2 separate regions of the Homo sapiens genome follow, and region 2 is linked to region 1. The links are contacts of gene promoters, found by promoter capture Hi-C in blood cells and fetal thymus (Javierre and others, 2016). All regions are on one chromosome and are shown on one strand. The core of a region is centred on a gene start or on the middle of the fragment in contact, and the rest is flanking DNA. Distances in the headings are between cores, read along the strand shown. Region 1 holds the start of ALKBH3 (alkB homolog 3, alpha-ketoglutarate dependent dioxygenase). Region 2 has its middle 9.1 kb from the start of API5.

What was found. Contacts are between HindIII fragments. The CHiCAGO score rates a contact against its expected background, and 5 or more counts as called.
Region 2: a contact is called between a fragment that was not itself captured here and the fragment with the promoter of ALKBH3 in region 1, in 4 of 17 cell types (non-activated CD4 T cells, naive B cells, total CD4 T cells and 1 more). The highest score is 7.1, in non-activated CD4 T cells.

Annotation. Positions count from the first base shown.
Region 1 is chr11:43,878,293-43,885,061 of GRCh38, reverse strand. ALKBH3 (alkB homolog 3, alpha-ketoglutarate dependent dioxygenase) reads right to left here and starts at 4,231. Exons shown (of 10, transcript NM_139178.4): 1 at 3,883-4,231; 2 at 2,331-2,479; 3 at 1,874-1,977; 4 at 1,045-1,079. The coding sequence starts at 2,409. It overlaps LOC105376644 (a long non-coding RNA gene), which reads left to right and starts at 4,325. Exons shown (of 3, transcript XR_001748200.2): 1 at 4,325-4,380. RefSeq lists an enhancer at 4,246-4,445. The HindIII fragment of the contact is 7,136 bases long and covers 3,777-6,769 here.
Region 2 is chr11:43,299,539-43,306,307 of GRCh38, reverse strand. No RefSeq gene overlaps it. Among named protein-coding and RNA genes, the nearest start is that of API5, 9.1 kb to the left of the region's middle. The HindIII fragment of the contact is 718 bases long and covers 2,546-3,263 here.

The DNA of each region.
Region 1 (6,769 bases), core at 2,982-5,481:
ACCAAAGGCCTGGCATGGTAGCTCATCCCTGTAATATCAGCACTTTGGGAGGCTGAGGTGGGAGGATCATTTCAGCCCAGGAATTCGAAACCAGCCCAGGCAACATAGGGAGATCCCATCTCTACAAAAAATTTTTTAAAAAAGGAGCAAGGCATGGTGGTGTGTGCCTGTGGTCCCAGCTACTCGGGAGGCTGAGGTGGGAGGATCACTTGAGCCCAGAAGATGGAGGCTACAGTGAGTTTTGATTATGCCACTGCACTCCAGCCTGAGTGACAGAGTGACAGCCTGTTCCAAAAAAATAAAAAATAATAAACAACCAAAGACTATTAGCCTGCGACTTTTTCTAAGATATACAAGCCAATCTGCAAGCAGTCAAACAGCATAACAAACAGATTGATCATGGGCAAGAACATATATCTGATGCTAATTTGCTAAGATAAAAGAATAGTTTCTACTGACAATTTATCTACATCAGATGAAAACTGACAAGCATAAAAAGAGGAGTCAAAGCATCTCTCACCAACTTTGGACAAGAACATTTTAGACACAGATCAATATAAGAAGAATGTTTACTATCATTTAAATTGTTCTGGAATAATTACATGGTTTTAATAAATGGACTGTAAGCTCATCTACAGCACTAGCAGCTTTCATAGCATTGCTAGTAAAAAAAAAAAAAAAAAAAAGAGGCAATTAATGGCTTCTCAAAGAACCATGCTTCAATGACTCAGGAAAAATCCCTCTCTGTCTTTGCCTGAGAGGTTTAGCTTACTGTCTACAGATATCGGTGAAATAGGGCCAGGAAATCTACACAAGTCAAAGTTTAACATATGGATATCTTGTTGCATTTTCAATACTATCAGCAAATTCAGAAAGTCTTCTCAAAAGATCAAGTTTAAAGACATTTGAGATGGGAATATCCCAGACTACAGTTAAGACACTTATTGGGCCATTCTCTTCCAGATAGAAAAAACAGTGAGGAAAGATTCCAGGCTCTTCATTTCACTGTGGGCAACAATTACAGGAAGACAGCAAATTACTTACTCAATCACTCGTGGCTCAGGAGCTCTACGTACTACCTGCAAGGAAATAGGCGGATCTTACTTCTGGGATGTTCTTAATCCTCAAGGATACTGACTTACCATATCTTCCCATTTCTGGTCAAAATAAAGTTAAAAACTATCTCTTTTCTATTCCAACTTCTCACTAACCCACTAGAGACCCTTGTCTCCACTCTTCTTAAAACTACTTCACATTTGCTAGTAGACAGTAAAAGAAGATACAATTATTAATAGAATAAATTTTCCTAGCAGCCAGCAGCTCTGGAAAAATCTTGACAAGATTTTTTAAAATAGAAAATATGCTATAAAATAAGGAGTTTTAATAATTATTTATAGGGTTGTTACTATGGCAAGAAACCCAACTTTTTAACTTTTCCACATTATTAAAAAGTAAATCTTCACTGTTTCCTACATTTTTCCTCATGGGAAAAAAGGGCTAAAAATCAGGCATTTTATTGTAAAAACTGAAATTTTAATCCAATTCCAAAGATGGTGAAGTGCAATAGCACTGAAGACAGCACAGTTTTAGGACTGCTGGAGCTCAAATAACCAATGCAAGCAAGCTCTCATTATGGTGTAACCTCCTTGCCAAAAATACGGGAATAACATGTGACCATAAACTGGGAGCAGACTACGAAGAATCCCCAGACATAGAAAGGAACTGAAATATTTCTCATTTCATTATTATTATAGTTCTTCTGCTCTGCTATTAGTGAATTTATTCAGTCATTATTTATTTGAGTGTCTACTGTGTGAATATCACTTTTCTAAGCAAATTTTTATCACTATTGAAGAAAAAACCATGAATTTACCTGCTGAGGTTCTTTGAACACAAACTCTCTGTCAGAGAGATGATGCTCTTTGTTCTTCCAGGTCTGGCCAGGCTTCTGGTGGAGATGGCTCTTAGCAGTGGTAGCTGAAGCAAGAGAGGGGACAGCCTCAAACCAGGGGAAAGTCTGTTCTCAGCACCTTCTACTGAGCAAGGGCCAATAAAGCCCACTTGGAGATGATCTCTATGACATGTAGAAACTAACTGGTAAAGTCAACAGAAGATACTGAAAGGTTTGAGGGTGTGGACTAAATATGAGGAACATTAAAGACCCACCCTTAGCTCACCATCAACAAAATCGGACAAAATATCAGCCACATTTTAAACAATTCCTTGACGTCAATTGAAATGGAAGTCCATTATAAACCAAAAGGATATAAATAAAAGAGAATGAGAGTTGTCCATATCCACACACACACAAAATCCCTACAGATTCTTGCCTGGCTGAGCAATGGCCTGGCTTTTAACAGGGGCAGCCCAGGCTCCCTGAACTCGGGCTCGCCGTCTTTTTTCCTCCATGTTGACCAAAAAGGCTTCTGCTCCGAGCTTTCAGAAGATTTTGTTCCTGTTTCAAACTACTCCATGGTATCTGTTTATTAAAACAAAACAAAACAGTGCTTTTAGTTAGGATTGTGAACAATTACTCCTAAGGCATAATTAATTTCAGGCAGAAGACTCTCAATGGCAATAGAGCTTCCATGTAAAATCAGTTTATGTCATCACAACATTTCATTCAAGAAGCCTAGTCATTTGGGGCTGCTGGCTTTAGCATTCACCTTTTGTAATCTTACCATAGTACTTTTGTTTCTTTCACAAGAAAGTGCATTTTAAGAAATTCTAAAATTAGGACCTATTATAAACCACATTCCTCTTAATAGTCCCCAAGAGTAGAATATAAGGAAACTGTACTATTCCCATTTTCACCTACATGGACATTGAGAAATCGGCTAAGACTGTTTCCAAGCATATATTCCATTATCACTGGCTGCATCAAACTTCCCTGGAAGTTTGTTCAAAATACCTATGGCCCACCTTCAGAAAATCTGATTTAGGATGGATACAGGTATTTGTCTTTATAACAAGCAGTGTAAGATTTGACACAATGCAGGTATGTATGTGGACGGTAAAGTTCAATGATGCACCCAAAGCCACTCAGGAAATCAACAACAGACAGATTAACATTCAACTTATATTAAACTCCTGTCTCCAGCTAACGGATAAATCCACCTCATAATGGCTAATAATACTAATTTGACAGTTGTACCAGTAAAAGCTTAGCCTACAGCAAATGCAGAAGCACGTACAGCTACCAAAACAACAAGGAAATTCAAGCCACATGTTCCACATCTGTAATCTATTTCTTTATGCTTCTACCTAAGAAAGCTTCACACCTCAAGTTCTCAAAGGTAAAAGCTCGTTTTATATTAATAGCTTGCTTAGACTATAGATTCCCAGGTCCCATCTCCCACCTCTTCTGATTCAGTAGAGCTGAGCCAGGCCCAGGAATCTGTGTGTTTAACAAGTTCCCCCAGATGATAAGCATGTAATTCATTTCATTTAATAGGTGGAGAGACGCAGAGGCTGCCATCTGCCCAGAAGAGTTAATGACAATCAAATACCAATTCTCCAATCCCAGGAGCTCCCGTTTGACATGTTCTCTCAATTGAGGCCCTAAAAGCGTAACACAATTACCTACAGTCCCCGCAGAGGATACGACTTGCTCACCTTCTTGCTCCATTCACTGGGGAGCCATATGTTATTTGCCAGGGAACAATTGTTGAAAATAGATTCCAGAGCCCCATCCCAGATCTACTCAATTTGTAGAGTCCCAGAATTTGTTAACTAACGCCACCCTCAACCCAGGAATTCTTAATGCACATAAAGCTTGAGAACCAGTGCTGTAAAATACAAGGACTCTGGCGCCAGCCAGAACTCGCTTTGAATCCAGATCTGTCACTTCCCAGCTGCATGGCCCATGGCAAATGACTTCACCTTTCTGAGCCCCAGTTTTTCCTCAGTAAACAGGGCAGTCACTTTCCGCACGGTTGAGGTGCAGACTAAGCGAGCTCCGCAGGTGGAAGAGCTTGGTCGTGGATAAGGGCACTTCCTTTTCCTAATTTAGATCCTTCTCTTTAAGGAGGCCTAGAATGAGGCCCCGGAGGTCGCCCAGGAAGAGACTTCAGGGGTGGTACTCGCACCCCCAGCCCCGCGCACCCAGCAGTAAGTCAGGAAGGCGCACTTGCGGGCGGAGCCGGGCGCGCCCGTGCAAACCCGGTAGGACTTGGGGCAGCCCTCGCAGCCCCTGACCCACTCCGCAGTCTGTGATCGGAACCTTAAGAGTGAAGCACCGACTCCAGCAACTCCCAATCACAGGCCGCGGCATCAGGCACTTCCTCTCGACGTTACGCAGCGCCGCCACTACTTCCGGTGCGCAGTCCTCAGTCCGGGTAGTCCCACATCCCCCGCGCCTGGAGGGCCTAATCACCGAAGGTGCTGATGAGGGGATATGTGTTGCAGCGGACAGGGATTGAGAGTGCAGGGGAGCGGTGTGAAGGGGTCGGGGTTTGGCAAAGGTGGAAGTGAAGGCGTGTCTCCTACGTGAGTTCCTCGAAACTGGAGATGTCCAAGCATCGGCATCTTTGTGGCAGAAAGAGTGACCGGGTCCCTGTGGGACTAGATAAAGGGAGAGGAGTTTGGGGGACCTGGTTATAATGTGTTAGGCAAAAGGATTTGCATTTTATCCTAAAAACCACGGAGAGCCTGAAATGAGCCTCCTTTGTGTTCCTATTGCAGCCTGTGCACACCTCCGAACACAGCATTTACAGCAGGGCGTAGGACCACGCCTTAATTCACCTTGGCTCTCTCCAGTGCTAAGCAAATTTGCTTGAGTGAACAGACCTACATTTTGGCCCAGACACCACCACTTACTAGTTGTATAATCTAGGGCAAGTACTCTGCCTCTTTTTAAAATGGGTATCGCTCTTTTTGGGAGGATTAAGTGAGATAATGCATTTAAAGAATATAGCACAATGCCTGGAACACAACAAAAACTCAAAAAATGAAAAAGAGCTCACCCCATTTGAGCTCATGAGAAACATCTTTAAAATGGTCATGTTAAACCATGTACTTTACAGTATGAAAATAGCAAAAGTAGCACTGAATTGACTGTTTTATGCAAGTCATTCTCTAAGATCCGCCAAAGTATAGTCACTGTGGAAATCTTTAAAATAAGCCTGATATGAGTGTTTACCTTCAGGAAGCTCATTATAGGTACACCTCATCAATGTGTACCTATATTGTTGCTACTATCAAATCCATTTTCACAGCACTCATTATTATTTGTTATACTTTGTGACACTGAAGGAAAAAAATGATTTATCCTAGACCTGAAAGGAGAGAAAATGCTAAGGCCACACTACAGTTTTTTTCCCCCATCAACTAATTTGTCAATGTCTGCTTCTGGCTCAGGAACTTTGGCTGTATCTTCTAAAATATGTTATTTCTTTCTTTTCAATGATTATAGTTTTGGAACAGGAACAAAGAAGTCTGGATTGAGGAGTTCCTAAAAGTAGTGATTGACACCTCTTCAGCCTCTACGTAGTGTATTTCTCAAAGATCAATCCATGATTTACTTGCATCTGAAATTACTGCTTTTTTTTTGTTTAACAGAATCACCTGCGTTTTTAACAAGCACCCAAGTGATTCTGGTGCACAAAAATTTTGAAAACCTCTAGGACATATGTAGGATGACAAATTGTTCTGGTTTGTATGGGCCTGAGGAGTTTCCCAAGACACAGGACTTTAAGTGCTAAAGCCAGGACAGTCCTGGGCAAACTGAGATGGTTGGTTACCCTAGACGATGCGAGTATATAGTATTAGATGTTCTTAATGGTCTTGGCATCCTCATTAGGGTCTTGACTTTCTTATTTCTATTTGAAGTGTTTGAGTTTTTATCAGGAGGTGGTGGTAGAGACCATGGGAGAAGGAATGAAGGCGAAGTGTGTTGCCAATTATCAACCTATTGAGTCTCCATTCCAAACCCACCCTTCACTACCCTGTTTGCAATATTGGAAGGTTTCTCCCTTGCCTTTTGGTTCAATGGACAGTGAGCTTCATCAGTGGAGGGTACTGGAGGAACTTTAGAGGAGGAAGGGGCTCTTTTTTCTGGTTCCAGTGTGCTCCTCTCAGCTGGCTCTTTAGTGCACAGTGGCCCACAGTGTTTGACTACTCCCTGTGGGCTGAATTACCAGGTTAGTTTCTCTTCTGAAAGTTAAGGCATCAATTGGGAAGGAATGGAATCCCAAAATTTGAAATAAGCACTCTGCTTAGACCCAGATAACTGACAGTCTTGAACACCCATGGCACCCTGAGCCTTCCTTGGCAGTGGAAGTAGCTTGTCCTCCTAAGTCTGAGGAGACTAGTCATTCTTTGCTTGAAGACACTGCTAAGCCCTCAGCTGGGGCAGATGACTTCAAAAGGGAAGCTCATTCTCTACAAGACCCAGCAGAATTTACTTCCCCTTCTTCTGCCTCATTGCCACTAGACCCTAACTAGGTTCAAACCTCATTAATGCTCCAGGTAGGCTGCTACACACTATGATCTAGGATAAAACAGCTTGCACGCTGAAAGAACTATACTAATTACACGTACTTTGCTAATGTATGGAATGTGTGGAAGTGGATTCTAACTGTTTTAAACTAAGGAGGGCAGTATATAGTACTATATCAGGCCAATTATATGGAGGCATTTACTAGAGTGCATTTACAGACATTGTGTTGACTCATGCAACTGGAAATGACTCTAACAGCTTATTTGGTGGATTTATTGAAGATTTAACTCAACAGTAGTCTATGGTTAATCCTACTGAGATGCCAAGGCA
Region 2 (6,769 bases), core at 1,655-4,154, 580 kb after region 1:
TACAGGCATGAGCCTCCACACCCGCCACCAACTTGGGCTTTCAAAGTGTTGCGATTAAAGATGTGAGCCACCATGCCTTGCCAAAAAGGCAACACTTTGCTGTGGAAGTGCTTTGCCTCTCAGCCTGAACATTCTCTCCTCCTCCTTTTCACACTACATTCAATCAATAAGAAGTCTCAATTTTATACCCTAAATCTATCACACATTTATGTGTTTCTCACTCTTCCTTCTGTCCCATGTCAGACCCTATCCCCTCAAATCTGAACAATGGCCACAGTTCCTAAATGGTTTCCTTATCTCCAATGTTAGTCAATTCTACTTCTTATAAAGTATCTTTTTATAATTTTTCCATTTTTCTTTAATTAAACAAGTAACTGTAAGAATACAGTATCATCATAATACATCCAAGTACTACAAAATGTTTCATGTAATAAGCAAAAGTTCCTCTTCAACTCTCCCTTCCTCAGAGGTAACTATGACTACCAATATAATTTATATTCTTATAGGCCTTTATATACAACACATGGGTCTAAAAATACATAAATGGGAGCACATTACACATTTTGTTCTACACCTTGCTTTTGTTAACAATATGTTTTGTAAATCTTTCCCTGAGCTTACTGCCTATTATTATTATTATTATTATTTTTAGATGGAGTTTCACTCTTGTCACCCAGGCTGGAGTGCAATGGCGTGATCTCGGCTCACTGCAACCTCTGCCTCCTGGGTTCAAGCCATTCTCCTGCCTCAGCCTTCAGAGTAGCTGGGATTACAGGTGCCTGCTACCATGCCCAGCTAATTTTTTGTTTTGTTTTGTTTTGTTTTTTTGAGACGGGAGTCTCACTCTGTCGCCCAGGCTGGAGTGCAGTGGTGTGATCTCGGCTCACTGCAACCTCTGCCTCCTGGGTTCAAGTGATTCTCCTGCCTCAGCCTCCCAAGTAGCTGGGATTACAGGCGCGTGCCGCCACACCCGGCTAATTTTTTGTATTTTTAGTAGAGATGGGGTTTCACCGTGTTAGCCAGGATGGTCTCCATCTCCTGACCTCATGATCTGCCTGCTTCTGCCTCCCTAAAGTGCTGAGATTACAGGTGTGAGCCACTGCGCCCGGCCTCTAATTTTTGTATTTTTAGTAGAGATGAGGTTTCACCATATTGGCCAGGCTGGTCTTGAACTCCTGACCTCAGGTGATCCACCCACCTCAGCCTCCCAAAGTGCTGGGATTACAGGTGTGAGCCACCACTTCTGGCCACTGCCTATTATGGATGTACCATAGTTTATTAATAGTTTCTCTGTTTCTTATAGGATATGTCAGTTGTCCCTCATTTTTCATTATTACACTGATAAATAGGTGATTTTTATTTTCTTCTTTGTGCTTTACTGTATTGTCCAGATTTTCTACAATGACTTTTGTAATTTTATACAGATTCTCCTTCCTTTTCATTGGATCTCTGAAGGAGTTTAGAGGTCATGTTGTCAAACTTTCTCTATTCTTACAAAGGCAAAATTCAATCCCAGAAAAGAGAATTGGATTGGCTAACCTTAGGTCACATGTCTATTCCACCCAATCAATTTAGACCAGGAAAGCAAGATCATACAAAGCAAACATTGCTGCCAGGGGCCCATAGCTACTGATAGAGGAGTGTGGGACTGTTCCTAGAAAATGAGGAGGCGAGGCAGGTGTTGATTTCCTTGTAAGGGCATTTCTGTAGCATCTGCTATGGTTTGAATGTTTCTGTCCCCTCTTGGAACTTAATCTCCAAACAATAGTATTAATAGGTGGATCCTTTAGGAAGTGATTAGGTCGTGAGGGCTCTTCCCTCTTTTTTTTTTTTCCTTTTTTGAGATGGAGTTTCGCTCTTGTTGCCCAGGCTGGAGTGCAGTGGCACCATCTCGGCTCACCACAACCTCCGCCTCCCGGGTTCAAGTGATTCTCCTGCCTCAGCCTCCCGAATAGCTGGGGTTACAGGCATGCACCACCATGCCTGGCTAATTTTGTATTTTTAGTAGAGATGGGGTCCATGTTGGTCAGTCTGGTCTCCTGACCGCAGGTGATCTGCCTGCCTCGGCCTCCCAAAGTATTGGGATTATAGGCATGAGCTGCCATGCCTGGCTGGCTCTTCTCTCTTAAATGGGAGTAAGGCCTTTATAAAAGGGGCTTCACACAGCATTTAGCCCTTGTTGCCTTTCTGTCCTTCTGCCACATGAGGACACAACAATAAGGTGATGTCTTGAAGCAGAGAGAGTAGCCCTCACCAGGCACCAAACCTGCTAGCCCTTGATCTTGGACTTCTCAGCCTCCAGAACTGTGAGAAACAAAATGCTATTACTTATAGATCACCCAGTCTCAGGTATTTTGTTAAAGCAGCACAAACAGATAACATTCTGTGTCAATGGGTACGTTTGAGGACCATCTGGATTTCATTCTGTAAAGCTGAGTGCCTGAGTAGAGATTGTGTTTTGGTTCATCATTCAAGTACGTATTGAACATTTCCTACGAGCCAAGCACTGTTTTAGAATGCAACCAAGCCAAGCAAGCAGGAAGCTTACATTCTGGCAGAGGCAGAAAAACAATAAACAAAATACATGAGTAAAATATATTTGGTTTACTCAAGTAAAGCAATAACATCAGTATAGAATAAAACCAGGCAATAGAAAGGCTTCATATACGGAAGCTGTGGTATGTGACTGATGACAGTCTGGAATTAGCCTTACAGAGTCTAGAAGAGATCTAGGTGCTTATCTGGTTTAGTGCTTGCCCTGGAAATCCACAGTGAACATCTCTTCCTTTTTTTTTTTTCTCGCTCTGTCACCTAGGCTGGAGTGCAGTGGCATGATCACAGCTCACTGCAGCCTTACCCCCCTGGGCTCAAGCAATCCTCCTGCCTTAGCCTCTCAAGTAGCTGGGACTATAGGTGTGTGTTACCTTGCCCAGCTAATTTTTAAATTTTTTGTACAGAGTCTCACTATTTTGCCTAGGCTGGTCTTGAACTCCTGGTCTCAAGCCTTCCTCCTGCCTGGCCTCCCCAGGTGTTGGGATTGCAGGTGTGAGTCACTGTGCCTAGCGCATCTCTTCGTTTTTGTTGCTTCTCTGTGACACTCAAATCTTCCTACTTTGTATTTCTGTTGTCTGTATACAGCTCCACTGGATAATAAAACTTGATCAGGAACTACTTATTAGATGTTTAATAAGTGTTAAATAAATGAAAGAATAAACTAAAAAACAAGTTTTCCAACAACAGTTTATTGTAGTATGACAAAAGCTTCTACTGATTTCTTGGCAGTAAGATTTTTTTTAACTTTGTTTTCTTTTTATTAATTTATTTTTAGGAAAACCATTATCTCCTTTTCCTAACCTCCCATTATCCCACCTACCTACCTAACATCACTGACTTTTGCCCCAGTATATTTTGACATTTTGAGGGCTGTGACTATCTTTACATTTATTTATTTTGTAACTTTAAAATTGGGTTTGTCTATTAAATATTAGTTGAAAAGCTTAAAGGACCACCTCCTCCCCTGCCAGTACTTCCAGTACTTTTTTTTTTTTTTTTTTTTGGTGACAGTTCTCACTCTCTCACTCGGTTGCCCAGGCTAGAGTGAAGTGGTGCTATCCTGGCTTGATGCAACATCTGCCTCCCAAGTTCAAGCCATTCCCATTCCTCAGCCTCCCAAGTAGCTGGGATTACAGGTGTGTGCCACCATGCCCAGCTAGTTTTTGTATTTTTAGTAGAGGTGGGGTTTTGTCATGTTGGTCAGGCTGGTCTCAAACTCCTGACCTTTTATTTGGGGAAACATTGGCTGCTATATAGAGGTGTGACATTTCTGATGGATTTATTCCTTTTTTTTGAGATGGAGTTTTGCTCTGTCCCCCAGGCTGGAGTGCAGTGGCATGATCTTGGCTCACTGCAACCTCCACCTCCCATGATCAAGCGATTCTCCTACCTCAGCCTCCTGAGTAGCTGGGATTACAGGCACATGTCACCATGCCCAGCTAATTTTTGTATTTTTAGTAGAGATGGGGGTTTCTCCATGTTGGCCATGCCGGTCTCGAACTCCTGACCTCAGGTGATATGCCCACCTTGGCCTCCCAAAGTTCTGGGATTATAGGTATGAGCCACTGTGCCTGGCCTCTGTCAGTAGTTTGTATGCCTTATATTTTGGCTCCATCTTTTGCCTACATTCTGAGAGCTTTTATTTTAAATTTCCGTCTTCCAAGGAGGTCTTTTTAATTCTAACAGAAAAGAGATCATGGCTCTCTGGAAGAAACCAAGAAAGATTTCCAAATTAAGGTCTACCTAGGTCTTAAACCAACTAATGATGATAATCATAGCAGATATACATTAAGTGTTAACTGTGTGCATAATAGCATGTGTGTTACAGTAATAGCTGAACCCTGTGGAATAACTGCTATCTGTCAGGCTTTGTGCTAAGTGCTTTCGATGTTTCAGCTCAAATGATGTTCACAATAACTTAATGTAAGGTTATGTAACTTTATGCGACCCTGTCACCAGGGCCACACAGCTGGTGAGAAGTTCTTGGGTTCATATCCAGGTAGTCTGGCTCTGATGGCTGCACCTCTATCTACTAAACTGCCTGTTATTTAAATATGTTTATTTCTAAGTCAGGTGTGGAGTCTCCCAGTTCCTTATCAAGACACTTCCAACCTCTAATCCAATTTGGGTCTGGCCACGGGAGCTTCACATAATTATGAATAGTATCTACTTCTAGGGTTGTTGTGGGGATTAAATGAAATAATACAGGCTAGTGCTTAGGACAGTGCCTGCCCCATTGTAAGTGCTCAGTGTTCGCTTCCTTCCCTTGTACCATTTTAGGTCTTATTAATTTATATTTCAAGAATGAATGTTCTTTGGTCGCTGTCAGTTACTCTTTGGAGATAAATTTGTTCCCTCTGATTGCATCTCAAATATGGGAAACCAGGGTGTATTAGTTTTCTGTGGCTGCGACAACAAATGATCATACATGTGGTCTCTTTAAACCATTTCATGTTCTCGCAATGCTCTCACAGTTCTTGGGGCCAGAAGTCTGAAATTCAGGTGTTGCTGGCAAGACCACGTTGCTTCCAGAGGCTCTGGGGGAGATTCTGTTTCTTTCCTCTTCCAGCTTCTGGTGGCTGTCAGCATTCCTGGGCTTGTGGTAGCATCACTGTAATCTCTGCATCTGTCTTTACATGGCCTTCTCCTGTGTCTGCTGATTGAGGGCCCCCTCTGTCACAACACCTGGGAACCTAACCTGGGTTCCTAAGCACTAACTAAGAGTAGGGTAAACAACTCACTGGAAAAGTTGAATTGTTTGTCTGAAAACAAGCTGTAAACAGACCACCTACTGAAGAGCAGCTCACCTCCTGCTGGCCTGCTGCCCATTGCAGTGCAGGAGCGCCAGATGTTGCCATTACTGTCCTAGCTACAGAAGAACAGGGGCGAGACAGACAGAGACAAAGAGAGAGAGAGTGAGAGTGAGAGACCACTAGCAGTTAAGAGCACTGGATTAGAAGGGTGACAGAGGGGACCAAAGAAATACTATCCCTGGGACTTTAAGCAAGTTAATAAACTACTCCAAACCTCAGTGTTCCCATTTTAAAATGGAAATAATAATAGTGCCACATCATGGGACTGTTGTGAGGTTAAAATGAGAGCTCCTTGTGCAGAGCCTGTCACATAGTGACTGCCTAATAGTAATGATAGTAAGTACCATGTTTTGAATGTTTTTCTGATGTGCCCCCTGGGTATCCCCACTTTTTTTTTTTTTTTTTTTTTTTTGAGATGGAGTCTAGCTCTGTCACCCAGGCTGGAGTGCAGTGTCGCGATCTTGGCTCACTGCAAGCTCCGCCTCCCGGGTTCACGCCATTCTCCTGCCTCAGCCTCTCCGAGTAGCTGGGACTACAGGCGCCTGCCACCAAGCCCAGCTAATTTTTTGTATTTTTTAGTAAAGACGGGGTTTCACCGTGGTCTCGATCTCCTGACCTCGTGATCTGCCCGCCTTGGCCTCCCAAAGTGCTGGGATTACAAGTGTGAGCCACCGCTCCCAGCCGGGTATCCCTACTTTACAGATGAAATGGGTAAGGCTAAGTAAGACCAAGAAAGACGACCAGGTGTGGTGGCTCATGCCTGTAGTCTCGACACATTGGAAGGCCAAGGAGGGCAAATTGTTGGAGCCCAGGAGTTTGAGACCAGCCTGGGTAACGTTGTGAAACCCCAGTAAGCACCTGTAGTCCCAGCTACTCTGGAGGCTGAGGTGAGAGAATCACCTGAGCTGGGAAGGTTGAGGCTGCAGTGAGCCATGATCACGCCACTGCACTCCAGCCTGGGTGACAGGAGTAAGACCCTGCCCCCTGCCTCAAAAAAGGAAAAAAAAAATCAAGAGAAGAGAGATTATTAGTGGCAGAAATAATAATTATTATTATTTGAGATGGAGTTTCGCTCTGTTGCCCAGGTAGGAGTGCAGTGGCACGATCTTGGCTCACTGAAACCTCCACCTCCTGGGTTCAAGCAATTCTCCTGCCCCAGCCTCCCGAGTAGCTGGGACTACAGACACGCACCACCATGCCCAGCTAATTTTTGTATTTTTAGTAGAGGTAGGGTTTCACTCTGTTGGGCAGGCTGGTCTCGAACTCTTGGCCTCAAGTGATCCACCTGCCTTGGCCTCTTGAAGTGCTGGGATTACAGGCATGAATGATTGTGACCTGCCAAATTATATTATTTTAAATTTTTAAGTTTTGTGGGTACATAGTAGGTGTGTGTATTTATGGGG